2 separate regions of the Homo sapiens genome follow, and region 1 is linked to region 2. Evidence: promoter capture Hi-C in human tissues and cell types (Jung and others, 2019). All regions are on one chromosome and are shown on one strand. Each heading gives the region's core, a stretch centred on a gene start or on the middle of the fragment in contact. The rest is flanking DNA. Distances are from core to core; before and after follow the strand shown.

Evidence for each region. The method cuts DNA at HindIII sites, captures the fragments that hold promoters and counts their contacts. A contact is called where the count stands out against the background at its distance.
Region 1: a contact is called between a fragment that was not itself captured here and the fragment with the promoter of CST3 in region 2, in 1 of the 25 tissues and cell types used here (dorsolateral prefrontal cortex).

What each region holds. Positions count from the first base shown.
Region 1 is chr20:22,396,037-22,399,336 of GRCh38, forward strand. No RefSeq gene overlaps it. Among named protein-coding and RNA genes, the nearest start is that of LINC01427, 110 kb to the left of the region's middle. The HindIII fragment of the contact is 3,047 bases long and covers 252-3,298 here.
Region 2 is chr20:23,635,999-23,639,251 of GRCh38, forward strand. It overlaps CST3 (cystatin C), which reads right to left and starts at 1,957. Exons shown (of 3, transcript NM_000099.4): 1 at 1,622-1,957. The coding sequence starts at 1,864. RefSeq lists silencers at 1,492-1,741, 1,772-2,111. The HindIII fragment of the contact is 14,575 bases long and covers 1-3,253 here.

The DNA of each region.
Region 1 (3,300 bases), core at 525-3,024, 1.2 Mb before region 2:
TCTTTAAATCTTTAAGGAAAAATCAAAATTACAGCCTCATATAATATCATACATGCACTCACATACTTTCAGATGAATTTTGATTTTTTAAAAGTTAAAAGATAAAGATTTTCACGTGGTAGAATTAGAACAAAATCAGAGAAATAGAGGAATAATTTTATTGTAGAAGAGTCTTATGTAAGCATAAGAGCAAAGAAAGATCTCACCAAATAAATAAGCACTATATATGATTACATAAAATATAACATTTCAAAATACATGCACACACACACATCACAATATACATGACAGAGAAAAGACTAATATCTTTACTATATAAGGATATTTTATAAATAATAAAAAAGGTAAATACATCAATAGATCAATAGAAAACCTGGCAAAAGATATAAACAGGCAACTCACTGAAGAAGAGCTAGAAATAATAGATGGTAAAATGGATGGCAAATATATGAAATAATTTTAAAACCTTGTGATCAAATGAAAATTTCAATAATTCCAACACATTTATCATATGATATATATACACACAATATTCCACATTTATCTTATAAAACTGGCCAACATTTTTATTTTTAATGAATATGCCCAGCACTTAATAAAAATGTAGGAAAATGAACATTCATGCCAGCTTATGGAAATATAAATTGGACTAACCATTCTAATCCACAATTTGACAATAAATATAAAAGCCTTAAAATTTATTCTGTATGAAGTAGGATATATGTTAGGATATCAGATTCTCCTAGGGATAATACCAAGGGTTTGAGGAGACGATATTCACTACAGCATCATATGTAACTGAAAAAAAAGGATAGGGCAATCTAAGTATCCAGCAGCCAAAATGTCCAAACCAATCATGAAATATGTGTACAGGATTGGAATAATATGAAGATGACACAAATCAAGCAGTAGACAAACACACTGAACTATGGAAACAACTGACAGTGTATTTCTAAGAGAAAAATTATCAAAAAGTACATGCTGTCGTTCATTTAGCCAACACATTGAGTGCTGAACTTAATTATACAAATAATAATAGCTTATGTGTATATGTAAAGAAAACACAGAACAGACATAAGGATAAAAACAAATATTACCTTTAAGTGTTGAATATTATAATGAAGATGATGGAAATCATCCATCATCTCACTATTGTTTACTTTAATAAACAGTAAGACTTTGGAAATCAGAAAGTAATAAGGAAGTTAGAAGGTGTCATGCTTTACCACATCATACGTTTTAAAACATGCCATGCTCTTTCAACATGTCATGCTATATTGTCATGCTTTTCCCCATAAGTTATAATATGTCATGCTTTTTATTTTGCAAAATCCTTTCTCCTAAGAGTTTAATAATAATGATACAATGGGATGGCAAAATGGTTCCAGCTGCTTTTTTTTTTTCCTTTTCTTTTTTTAACCAATTGCCCCAGGCCAGTTTAAGAGCTTTGATACATGATCAGAGTTTCAGCCACAGCTTCCCGGCTGGTTCAGAAACAGCAGAAGGAAGAATTTAAAGTGCAAGTAGTGGCTTCAGAGTTTCTTGGCCTCTGAGTCTCCCAGTCACTCTGCACCCTCCAAATCAAGACTCTCCCAAGTTTCTCTGTCACATGGTGCATTTGAGAGAAATGTAGAAGTGGGACTCACTGAAACTGAGGCTGGATCCTGGAATCATGCCTTATGAGTTGCTTACAAGCTTTGTTCCCTCCTTTTTAGTGTTCTCACACCTTGTTAAAACATCAAGTGCAGGTTCTCAATACTGCAAGAGAAGAGCCATCTTCCCAAGCGATTCAACAGCAAAACATTTAGATTTCCTCCCACAAATAAATGTCTTGTTCTATTATGTGCCAGTATAGGAATTATGGGACATGATCATTCAGCACCAAATTTACCTTAGATATTACAGTGATGTGTAAGATATGGCTTTTGTTGACAAAGGATTTATTATTTATTGTGTCAACAGGTCTTCCCAATGCTCCCATGAAAAAAACTTCCCGTGACTTCCTTTCACCTCAAATTACAGCTCCCTGGGTTTCTCCTCCAACACCACCCTTCTGCACTCACTATTTCTACTTTCTGAGCAGCTATTGTTCCACAATTTGTCAGTTGGACTTCTGTACCATTCTCCATCAACAATCTACTGAAAGTGGTCTGGTAAAGGTTGACAGCAATCCAAGTTGTGAGGTCCATCAACTTCTCCATCATCCCACTGTCTGAAACACTCTCTCTGTCAATCACCTTCTACCTGCAGAAAACGTTCTGTTTCCTGACCAGTGACTTAGATTTGCACAGTGATCAAGCTTTCAATGCTTGTCTTTTCTTGTTCCTTGGTCTTTCTCATGTAGACTTACCAGTTCCCTTAACCTTCAACTATCTTCTCATATTCACGACTCCTAAATTTGTGTTTCCAGCTCATCTCTCTCCTGGACTAATACAAATATGAAATAGCTTCCTGATCCTCATCAATTCTCTATTCTTATCCACACCCTCATTCCTTACCTATTGCTGAAGTCATCACCATTACCCTCTAACTCATATTCCTATCTCTGGCCTTATGCCTATCCATCCCTTTCCTTTAAAATTATATTTCTATGTCAGATATGGTTAGCGCCTTTAAGGGTCCAAATGGAAACTTGGAGCATATAAGAAATAGAGTGCAGCTCTCCCTTCGCACTCTTGACTAAAATCTTCAGGAAAACTGTCATGATCTATATGAAAATCCACAATGCCTCTGAATATGAAGCATCCCTCCCCTGGAGTCATGCAATATCCAACCTTCATGGCCATATGCGGGGGTTCTGGTTCTGTTAGTAGGATCCCACATCAGAATAACCAGGTTGACAGAACACATATATGCCATTTAATTATAATACTTTAGATCATCCACATTTCCGACAAATGGTCTTTTGGCTCCTGCACCAACATCTTCAACAACTGGGAACTCTTTCTGAAAGTGTATCTCTTCTTTACAGAGTTCAGAAACTGAACTTGCTGCCTTCTTGAAGCTTTTCTTTATTGACAAGTTTTTAAATATTTTAAGAATATTCGGAACAAGAAAGCAGAATAACACAGTGATTAAAGGTACAACCTTTGATGATCAACAGATCTGTGTTGGAATACTTTCACTATTTACTAAATGATCTTAGACGAATTCCTCAATTGCTCTATTGCTTTGTTTTTTAATCTGCAAAATGGGGATAATATCATTACCCATCTTCTCCCTTTTAGGGTTCTGAGGATTAAATGAAGTAATGCTGGTAGTGATACACAGCACCCAGTCCATAGCAGGGGCTTGGTAAGG
Region 2 (3,253 bases), core at 707-3,206:
ACCAGGGTGCTAGACCTTGCCCTGTGGAACCACACACAAGTCCTGTAGAAGCACAAGCAAGGCCTGTGATCCCTCTGGTGTCAGTCTGCTCCTCTGTAAAATAGGCTCCAGGGCCCAACGATCTACAATGCCCCATGCTTCACTCCCAGTGAGAGAGAGGTGCAGGCCAGCGGGGACCCTACACCAGGGAATGGCCCTCCTGTGCAGGGAGAGGGCCCCAGCTGACGGCTGCGGGAGAAACGCGGCTGGTCTGGACTCCTCTGAATTTCCAAGAGAAGGTGGAGGAGCTCTAAAGTCTGTGTCACTGTTCGCTGCTCTGCCATGGGATGCAGGTCAAGCTGGGCCTGGTAGCCCTACTGAAGCTCCCTCCCGATCCGACCCCCTACTCCGGTCTGCTGGGTGTCTTCATCTGGCTGAGGTCTAACTCTGCATCAGCTGATAGAGGCAGGGTCAGGCATGCTCCACCCCAGCAGGGACTCAGCTGCCCTGGGATGTAGGGGGTGGTCAGCCGGCCTGAGGGTGAAGGCCGCTAGTCCTAGGGGACTGTGCCCAGGGGTGTGACTTGGGGAGGGAAGCAGGGCTCTGCAGGACAAGGTGCCAGGCTCACGTGTGGCCCCTGCGGAGAGTATTCTGGGAGGAGGATGAGCCGCATGGCCTAGATCTCATCTTGAGCAGCATCAAGCCCACCCAGAGTCAGCATAGTCTCCATCCACACCTGCTAGACCCTGGGAAATGGCACGGTCGTGGCACAGACCCAGCTGCTGCTGCAGGTTAAAAGAGGCCGAGGGGACAGGACAGGGCTGAACTCATGCACTCATGGCCCAGGAGCGTCCTAGGGCACGAAGGCCGTCAACAGACAGGGAAAGCTGAATGAGTCTGAGCATTAGATCATGAATGTGTCAGTGCTGATTTTCAAAATGGAATAGTGATTATGTGCGATATTGCCCTTGTTTTTAGGAAAAACACACTGAAGTGTTTACTTTCAAAAGATTCAGGCAAAAAATGCATATACAGTACATATACACACACCCATATTCACATTCGGAAAGTGAGCTGGGGGGAACAAACAGGGCAAAATGTTAACATCTGTGCTAACATCTGAGGGATCTGGGTGAAAGATCTACAGGGATGCCCTGTGCTATTTTGCAGCTGCTCTGTAAGTCTGAAATTACGGGAGAATAAAAAGTTAAAAGAAACAAAAGTGCTTAAAAATTATTTGGTGGAAGAACAAGGAGGCAGCCAGATGAGGGGCTCTGTTTTTCCTTCTCCTGCGTATTCAGCAGCGCACCCGGAGCCCAGCGTCCCAGGAGGTCGGGACAGAGCTGTGTGGGACGTCCTGTGCCTGCCCCCGCGCTGCGGCGCAGCTCGAGCTGGCTCCTGGAAGCTGATCTTAGGCGCCGGGCGCGGACCTGACGTGTCCGTGCGGTTCCAGGCCAGGCCAGACTCAGGGCATTCCCGGACACGCCCGCCAAGGGCTCGGGGGTGACAGCGAAGACCGGGAACAGGGTCCGGGTGAGAAGCCCAGGCGCCGGAGAGGAGCAGCACGGGGTCCGGGAGCAGCGCGGGGGGAGGCTGGGACGGCGGGGCCGGGGCTTCGGACCCTGCGGGGGGCGGCACGCACCTGCTTGCGGGCGCGCACCACCTGCAGCGCGCGGCTGTGGTACATGTCGTTGCTGGCTTTGTTGTACTCGCCGACGGCAAAGTCCAGTGCACGCCGCACACCCTCCTCCTCCACGCTGGCGTCCATGGGGCCTCCCACTAGGCGCGGCGGCTTGCCGGGACTGGAGCCGGCCGCGGGGCTCACGGCCAGGGCCACGGCCAGGATGGCCAGCAGGAGCAGCGGGGCGCGCAGGGGCCCGGCCATGGTCGGCTAGGACGCGGGACGCGGGGAGTGGGGCGCAGGCGAGAGGCTGGAGCTAGATAGAGAGGACCCGCTGCGATACCGAGGCGAGGCCGTGAGCCCCGCGAGGCCGGCGACTGCGGTTTTATCCCTTCCGGCCTTCGCCGCCCCACCCCACCGCGGCCTGCACTCCCTTTTCCGGAACGCCTCGTCCCTCCCACCTCCCTTCTCCCTCCCCGCCTCCCCTGCCTCTCCCCGCCTCCCCTGCCTCTCCCCGCCTCCAGGTCCCTCCCTATCAGTCTCCTCCCATCCCAGCCTCCCCTGCCCCTCCAGGCTTCCCTGTCCTTCCCCATCCATCCCCTTCCCTCCCCTCCCAGCCCCTCCCGGCCTCTCCTCTCCCTTCCCGCCTCCCCTCTCCCTCCCCTCCTCCCCTGGCCCCCCAGTCTCCCTGGCCTTCCCTATCCATTCCCATCCATCCCCTCCCCTCCCCTCCCCCTCCTCTCCTACTGTCTTCCAGCCTCCCCTGCCTCTCCTATCCTCCCCATTCCTCCCCATCCATCCGACCATTCCCACCTCCCCACTTCGGGCCCCTCCATGCCGCCACTCTTCAGGCTCCTTCTCCTCTGTCCCTTTCCCCTTTCAACCCCCAGACACCGCCTCCCATGCCCCTCATCTCCCTCCTCCACTCCTGTCCTTGCTCCCACTTCGCCCCCACCCCAGCTCGGCCCCTCTTCATCGCCCCTCCCTCGTCCCGCCCCTCCTCTGTCTTCCCTTCCTACCCATTCCTGGCCTCTCCCTGTCCCTGTCCCTCCTATCCTCTTCTTTCCCCTCTTCTCACCCCACTCCTGGCCCCTCTTCCCCCACCCCTTCCACACCTATGCCCCCCTTCTACCCACTCCACCCCCTCAGCTCCATCTCTTCCCAAAGACCTGTCCCTCCTCCCAAGCTTAGGTCACCCTGCCCTCCAGAGAGGTGTCAAGGCCCCCTGGGCCCTAAAAGCATACGACCCCCTAGCTTCATTTCCTCAGAAAAGGGAAAGATAGAGGTCTCGGCCTTCCGGAGTCTTCAGAGGTCCTGAGTATCCGTGAGCATTTGGTCAAGGTCTAGAAATCACTAAGGCAGAGGTGTGATTCCAGAGGCCACAGGAGACTCAGGCCATGCCCTGTGCTAGGGAACTTTTCAAACAGAAGAATTAACCTTTATTTGAGTAAAAAACTCTGGGTTCTCCTTTCACAACTCATTATTCAGTAAACAGACTTTTCACCAGCTTCCCCCTGCACCAGGTAGTCTAGGAGCTAGAGACGGAGCCTGGGTGACCGAGCCATGGACACTACATTGCAGGGCTGCTGCCAGACAGAAATGTGACACGAACCCAGGAGCAATTTAAAACTTTCTGGGAGACACATTTCAAAA